Linked DNA regions of Homo sapiens: region 1 is linked to region 2. Evidence: promoter capture Hi-C in 16 types of primary human blood cells and fetal thymus (Javierre and others, 2016). All regions are on one chromosome and are shown on one strand. The core of a region is centred on a gene start or on the middle of the fragment in contact, and the rest is flanking DNA. Distances in the headings are between cores, read along the strand shown. Region 1 overlaps ERI1 (exoribonuclease 1). Region 2 holds the start of MCPH1 (microcephalin 1).

What was found. The method cuts DNA at HindIII sites, captures the fragments that hold promoters and counts their contacts. A CHiCAGO score of 5 or more calls a contact.
Region 1: a contact is called between a fragment that was not itself captured here and the fragment with the promoter of MCPH1 in region 2, in 2 of 17 cell types (naive CD8 T cells and fetal thymus). The highest score is 12.4, in naive CD8 T cells.

The regions. Positions count from the first base shown.
Region 1 is chr8:9,005,104-9,009,023 of GRCh38, reverse strand. ERI1 (exoribonuclease 1) reads right to left here. Exons shown (of 7, transcript NM_153332.4): 2 at 876-1,054. Among named protein-coding and RNA genes, the nearest start is that of ERI1, 4.2 kb to the right of the region's middle. The HindIII fragment of the contact is 1,115 bases long and covers 2,028-3,142 here.
Region 2 is chr8:6,404,120-6,407,876 of GRCh38, reverse strand. MCPH1 (microcephalin 1) reads right to left here and starts at 1,250. Exons shown (of 14, transcript NM_024596.5): 1 at 1,188-1,250. The coding sequence starts at 1,209. MCPH1-DT (MCPH1 divergent transcript) reads left to right here and starts at 1,329. Exons shown (of 2, transcript NR_040040.1): 1 at 1,329-2,171; 2 at 2,757-3,757. RefSeq lists silencers at 989-1,168, 1,429-1,508. The HindIII fragment of the contact is 9,682 bases long and covers 1-3,757 here.

The sequences.
Region 1 (3,920 bases), core at 1,336-3,835, 2.6 Mb before region 2:
CAGAAAGAATCGGGGAAATAGGAGTCAAAAATTTCTTCATACATTATGATGTAGACAATCTAGAAATTAATAAATTTGTGCTCTTTTGAAGAGTGGTGAAACTCTAAAGAGGAAGAATACTACTATTAAGAGAATTATGATTCAGAGATGTCTTGAAAAAGGAAGAGTTTTTACCTATTTCATACAGGCAATTTTTTTTCTTGATGCCTGGCAGTTCTACCGTTTATCAAAAATCGATGTATTTTTCTGGACTCCAAAAGCCATTTCTGCCCCATGGCCCAATGAACGTAAAGTGATTTGTTTCGCAAAAAATTACTAAAAACTTAGGTATGTGTATATCTCATTAAAATACACATACAGTTGACTAAGTTGCATTGTTTTCTCACTCAATATACAGTGAAACATAATGCAAACGATCATTGTAGATTATTTTTTAGAAATTAAAACAAAAAATATTCCTGTTAAGTGAATGTTTTTAATTTATTGTACCTGATTTCAAACAAACTCTTTTTATAAAAGATACAAATGGCAAAAAGAAAATAAAAAATACTCTATCTCACTAATATAACTATCCATCATTTAAATGAGCAACTAAAAAAATTTAAAACACTCTTGTCATAATAAGACAGAGACTCCTATACATTGCCGGTAGGTCATTAAAATATTTGACTTTGATTCAGCAGTCCTATCATCTAGAAGACAGACAAAAATAATCAGAGTTGCACATAAAAAATGTTAATTAGTTTTTGTGAACTGTTAATAGGATCATGTCATTACGGTAGGATTACAGATGATTTTTAATATTTCAATGTTTTCAAGATTTTCTAAAATGAGCATGTACTACTTTTATAATTTTATAAGTTATTTTTAATTACCTAGTTTCAAGCTTGAATTCTGAAAGCTTAGCTCTGAGTTCTTCCTTACTCATTCTATTAATACAGCCATTCGTAATGGCAATCTCTTTGTAAACCGGGTCACTGAAGTCACTCGCACTGGAGGTAATGAACTTGGATCCTTTTGTCTCCTGGCCATCAAATTTACACTGTTGAGTTTCCTACCAAAAAAAAAAAAAAAAAAAAAAAAAAAAAGGATGTAGTTTATAATTAGTACAAACATCACAGATTTAAAGATTCAAACTTTCAAACTTCTGAAGCCTCTTCATGCTACATGTTCAATGAAAAGTGTTCACTGCAGCTCCTAAACGGAGGAAAGGATAAGAAGGAAGATGCGTCTCCAATACAATTTACCCCACTCTATTATGAGTCATGAGGTTCCTCAAAGGAAACAAAGCTAAGTAAAAAGAAGACTGGTGGTGGGAGTCAACACCACCTCAATAGAGAACCCCAGCTGACTATTTACTAGAAATAGCAGCATGACTTTGGATAGCTACGTATTAGCCTCTGATCCTCAATTTCCTTATCTATAAAATGGTAATTTGGTAATGGTAAATAGTGTTTGGGCAGAATTATTACAAAGATTAAATGAGATTATGTGTATCAGACCCCTACACCCACAGTAGCTATTAATAAATGGTAACTATTAATATCACAGGCTATACAACAAGCCCTTCACAAACAATATGCTAATATTTACAAATGAACCCATTTTTAAATGAACTTTTACATTATACATGTGTAATAACTTCTGATAATTTTTTAACCTGACTTCATTTCACAAAGTTAACAAAAATTGCCCAACATAAAAACAAAATGGACCGCAAATCTAATTTACAGCTTCCTAGTACTCAAAGAAGGAAATGTATTTAATTTCAAAACTTACATTTTCCAAAAGTTGTACTTAGGTCCACTAACCAGAAGAACTATAGAATTATGAATTTTTTCATAAATAAAAATCTGTTAAGAAAAAACATGACTCAATTCTATTTTCTCCACAGGCAGTCTCAAATTACTAATATGTTAAGTTCCAAAGATTCATTTGTAAGTTATTTTCCACATGCAATATCACAAATATTAGCTATGTTCCATAATTTTGAAAAATATTTAGTACTAATTATCCCTATTAAAGCTTGTTACCTTAGTTATAATGTACCACATTGTCCTCACGTAAACTGTAATTATAGATCAAGGAAGGATAATCACAGAGAGGCCACAGTCCCTAACTCAGAACTGATCCTGATGGTTCAGGAACCATTTCTTACTCTAAGCTCTCAATTTAATGCAACACACATTTACTGGAAATGTAATGCTAGGTAAGGTGCCAGAGTACTCAAGAGTGACTCACCCATTTCCTTTGAGGAAGAGGTCAGCAGTTCCAATGTGTGAACTGTCCATAAATTAAAGAACAGCCACACTGAGGTTCCTTGTTAACAATGTTAAGGAAAAAAAAAGTATTGCTAGTTGACCAATGATTCACTTTCAACAATATATTAGATTTACAATAGATATTGCTCTGCTTGACCAGAATTTTACAAAAAATTATCTTTTGACTTTAAATTTACATTGAATTTGAAACTTCATCTTTAGTCATCATTTAGTAAATTTCAGGTTAAAATTTAGGTCAACATTAAGTAACAGTTTGTCTACCAAAACAGATGTCTCAGTTAATTTAAGCAGATTTTCTCTTTGGATAAATCCTCTTTCTGATTCACTGGTTAATTCTCATCCTAAACTGTAGCTAGAAAAATTATTCACAAGTAACACTTAGGCCTCTTCTATAGATGCTATAAATTATGACTTCCATAAAGAAAAATTTGCTTCCTTTCCTAGGTCCAGCTCTAGTTCTCTTCCTTCAGTGAAGTTCTAGAGACAGCCGAGGTCCAATCCTCAGAAAGCAGTGTCTCCTCCCAAATTTCAAATCTACACTAATGGTTCACAAAGAAGGATGCTCAAATCAATCTGCCAAGGAGCAGAAAGAAAATACTAAAAACCCTACTTGTATTGTTAATCTGCAGAAAGACAAAATTAGTTTACGAAATACATACTTACATTTGCATCAGCATCCGTACCAGTAACTACATCCACCTATCACATGTCACATATAATACGGACCATATAATGAGAAAAGTGATAGATTCCACAATATGGAGAGAAACATTCACCATCACAGAACTGTAACATTTTGCAATATTCACGTATTCAATTAAGTGGATGTATGGTTTATATTATCTCAAATAAGAGAAGCTTTTACATTATGGGATGTGGCCATGAAAATCTTCTATACCAAACAGAGGTTTACTATCTTGTGGCAAACTACTTTAAAACTGTCGTTGAGGCCGGGCGCGTTGGCTCACGCCTGTAATCCCAGCACTTTGGGAGGCCGAGGCGGGCGGATAACGAGGTCAGGAGATAGAGACCACGGTGAAACCCCGTCTCTACTAAAAATACAAAAAATTAGCCGGGCGGGCGCCTGTAGTCCCAGCTACTCAGGAGGCTGAGGCAGGAGAATGGCGTGAACCCGTGAGGCGGAGCTTGCAGCGAGCCGAGACTGAGCCGCTGCACTCCAGCCTGGGCAACAGAGAGAGACTCCCTCTCAAAAAAAAAAAAAAAAAACATAAAAAAACTGTTGTTGAACTTAAAGATGAGTTACAAATTTTCTTTTACAAAAAGACAGGTATTCTATAATTGCTGTCCTCTTCTTATTGGGAAGGGTACCGGAGCTTGATTTTTAGCATTTTTTTAAAGGAACACAATCTGTTGTTGCAAGAAAAAAGAAAACACATTTTAACAGTAAGCTACAAAGTAACTGCTTGTCAAATAAAACTTTTTCTGTATAGAGAACATTTTGAAAACATGTTCTGGAAATGCTATTATTCTGCTGCCAAAAATCTAGGTACTACCTTTTAAAAAAAGAAAAGGAAAACCTCTGCATCTGCACACTGAAAAAAAACTTAGAATTTTTCTTGATTGACGTTCTTCCAAAAGGAGAGTTCTGATGAAATCTGAACCTACTTATTAAAAATA
Region 2 (3,757 bases), core at 1-2,500:
CTTAAAAATGTAAAAGACATTCTTAGCTCGTAGACCCTTACAAAAACAGGCAGCAGGCTAGATATGGCCTGGGGGGCATAGTGAGTGGACCCCTGTTCTAGTGGATATCCTCTTCTCAAAACCTGATGTTTAAAAGCATTTTCCAGGTGTGCCGTTGGTCAATGATTGGGGGTAACGCTAAAAGAAAACCAGGTTAATTTAACAAAATACTAACATTAGAAAAATAGCCACATCTGATTACAGACTTTGTATAAAGCCTCTAGTCTTTACTTTTGGCTATGAGGTTTTATGACTCCAGGCCCCACAATACAGGCCCCTTTTTTCTCACGGTCAAACTCTACAAGACACGTGTCCGCTATTCCCCTCTCCTGGGCTCTTCCAGGTGCACAGAGGGTGGGACTGCGTGCGGTATCATATACTGGTTAGGACAGCAGCTCCGGTCTAAGGCCCTGTCAGCACTGACTAGCCACACACAGGGAGAGTCACCTAAACGTCCGATGCCTTAGTTTCTGCCTGTAAAATGATATAAGAGAGTTGATAGAGCGGTTAAAAAAATCAGACAATACCATACTAGCCTAAGCACAGCGCCTGGCACACAAAGACTCCGCAGTAAAAGGCGGCTCCTATTATTGGAACAATTAGCATAGAAACTCAACTGCCGCTCCTCCAGGTGGGCCTCAGAGGGGGTCGAACAGGACCAGACCCAGGAGGGCCCCACACCAACTTCCGGAGGGCAGGACTCTGCCTGCCAGTGAGCCCCAGATCCAGGGACTAAGGCAGCAGGGGTGAAAGCAGGTAGGGGGAAAGGCGGGATTTGGGGGACAGGCAGCATGGGGGAGGGAGCAGGCAGCGGGGGATTGAGGGGAACTAGCAGCACGGGGGTTGGGGCACAAGCAGTACGGGGGAGGAAGCAGGCAGTCGGGGGTTTGGGGGGACAGGGAGCACGGGAGACGAAGCAGGCAGCCGGGGGTTTTGGGGGGACAGGCAGCGGGGGAGAGAGCAGGAGCAGGGGGTTTTGGTGGGACAGGCAGCGGGGGAGGAAGGAGGCGGCAGGGGGTCTGGGGGAGACAGGCAGCGAGGGAGGGGCGAGCGGGGCTCCTCCCACGGGATCCCCCGAGTGCGCCCGCGACGAGGGGTGCCGGTCCTCAAACTCCCGCTGCTGGAGCAGGCAGCAGGAAGTACCTCACCTTTCAGGATGGGGGCCGCCATGACAGACGGCGGGATCCGGCCAGCTGGCCTACGCGGTGCTTGCGAGCCTGGCGGCGCGCGCGGGCACTGGGCATGCGCGGGGTGAGCGCGCCGCCGTCACCGCGCTCCGCTGAATCCGCGTTTCCGGGATTTCTCTGTAGGTGAGGCGGGAGGCTGGAGGGAGCTGAGCCCCCGGGGAGGGGGCCCGATTCCGCCTCGCCGCGCCTCTGGCTGCTGGGCCGTGGGTTTTTCTCTTCTCCTGGGAGTAAGGAGGACGACGGCCCCTAACCCCTGAATTAGCCTTCTATTTCCATTAGTGACTTAGAAGCTACCCGGCGCCTCATCTGGGCTCACCTGAGCTGAGGATCAGGAAGGGGAGGGGGCACAGTCATTCCCTCGCGGACGCGGCGGGACCCCAGCGGACGGCTTTGTGCGGACTTTCGGCACCGTTATGCCCCCCTAGCCCGACACCACCTGGGGCTGGCGCGCCACGTTACTGTTCAGGGCCAGACGCACCGCCCTGCCTGCTCCGGGGAGCCGGACCTCCGATCCCGGGGATGGGGGACCCCGAGACCTCAGACCCAACGGAGGGGACTCTGATACCTCAGACCCCACGCGGGGACCCCGAGGCTTCAGACCCCCACAGGGTGACCCCGAGATCTCAGACCCCCGCAGGAGTACCTCCAGACCTCAAATCCCCAGTAAGGGAATGAAAGAGACTTCGGATCCCTGAGGCAGCAAATCCCTGTAGGGGCATCCCAGGACTCAGGTCACCGCGGGGTGAACCCAGACCTCACATTCAGGCAATCCCCAGGACGCCGATCGGCTGGCACTACCCACTGTCCCGGCCACCCCCCCTGGAGCTCAAAGGCTTGGCCCTCCAGCTGCTCCACCCTGCCGGCAACCAGGCTCAAACCTGCAGCCCGCGGATCCCCTGCCCCGGAAGCAACCAGATTCGCGGGAGGTTACCTGACTGATCCAAGGTGATACAGCTGGTAACTGATGGAGATGTTGGTAGTGAAATTCATGTACTTTTAGTTCTTTCTATGGAATCTAGAGGTAGAATACATGTAAAAGAATATCGACTACCGTCTACTCAGGTCTCTGTTTTATCTGTTTATTCATTCACTCTCAGCTTTTAATAGGATCCAATGAGCCCTCTGTGGTTCTGAAGAATTGCCTTGAGTATATGCAGCCTCAAAAAACCCACTTCCTAGGCTCAGTCTTTGATCAATATTTATCATTATCACCAGTTATTGTTCTAATAAACTCTACTCTGGAAATATGGTGTTATGGTTTACTTGGGAGTGTGAGTTCAGGGCATCATTGAAGACTCACGTACTTTTACTGAGAAAGTGACATTGATCTCTGTAGATTTTGAATTAAATGATATGATGAAGTATATAAACCAATTACTTTTGGTCAAGGTGGTAAAAAAAGTTTAGTATTTGATAGATTCTTCATCTCCACGATCACAAATATTTTCTCCTAGGATTTCTTCTAGAAATATTACTGCTTTAGGTTGTATATCAGGTCTAGGTTCTACTTTTTTTTTTTTTTTTCTCCAGGCAGTTTCTCACTCCGTTGCCCAGGCTGGAATGCAGTGGTGTAATCACAGCTCACTGCAGCCTCAACCTACTGGACTCAAAGGATAAGATCTGCTTTTAATTAATTTTTGTATACGGTATGGGATAGGGACCAAAGTTCATTTTTTTGCATGTATACATATCCAAATGTTCCAGCATCATTTATTAAAAAGTTATTTTTGTCTCTACTGCATTTCCTTTGTGCTTACATCAAAATCTGTGTTGCATATGTATGTGTTTCATTTTAGGCTTCCTATTGTGTTCCATTGAGCTATTTGTCTTTTTGCTGCCAGCACCATGCTGTTTTGATTATTGTAGCTATATAAATAAGTGATGAAATCAGATAGTTTATGTCCTACAACTTTATTTTTCAAGGTTATTTTGTATCTTCTAGATTCTTCAGATTTCCTTTTAAATCTTAGAGTCGACTTCTCATTTTGCACAAAAAAATACTGCTGGGATTTTGATTGAGATTGTGTTGACTCTACAGATGAATTTGGGGAGAATTGACATTTTAACCATATTGAATCTTCTGACCCATTAACATTTAGGTCTTTTAAAATTTCTCTGGCCAGACGCAGTGGCTCACGCCTGCCACTTTGGGAGGCCAAGGCGGGCCGATCACAAGGTCAGGAGATTGAGACCATCCTGGCTAACACAGTGAAACCCCATCTCTACTAAAAATACAAAAAATTAGCCGGGCGTGGTGGCATGCGCCTGTAGCCCCAGCTACTTGGAAGGCTGAGGCAGGAGAATGGCATGAACCCGGGAGACAGAGCTTGCAGTGAGCAGAGATCTTGCCACTGCACTCCACCTGGGGCAACAGAGCGAGACTCCATCTCAAAAAAAAAAAATATAACTGTTGTTAGATTTTAACCTAAGTATTTGTTTTTTTATTTTGTTTTTCTTTTTTTCTTCTTTTTTTTTTTTTTTTTTTTTTGAGACAGGATCTCACTCTGTCTCCCAGGCTGAAGTGCAATGGT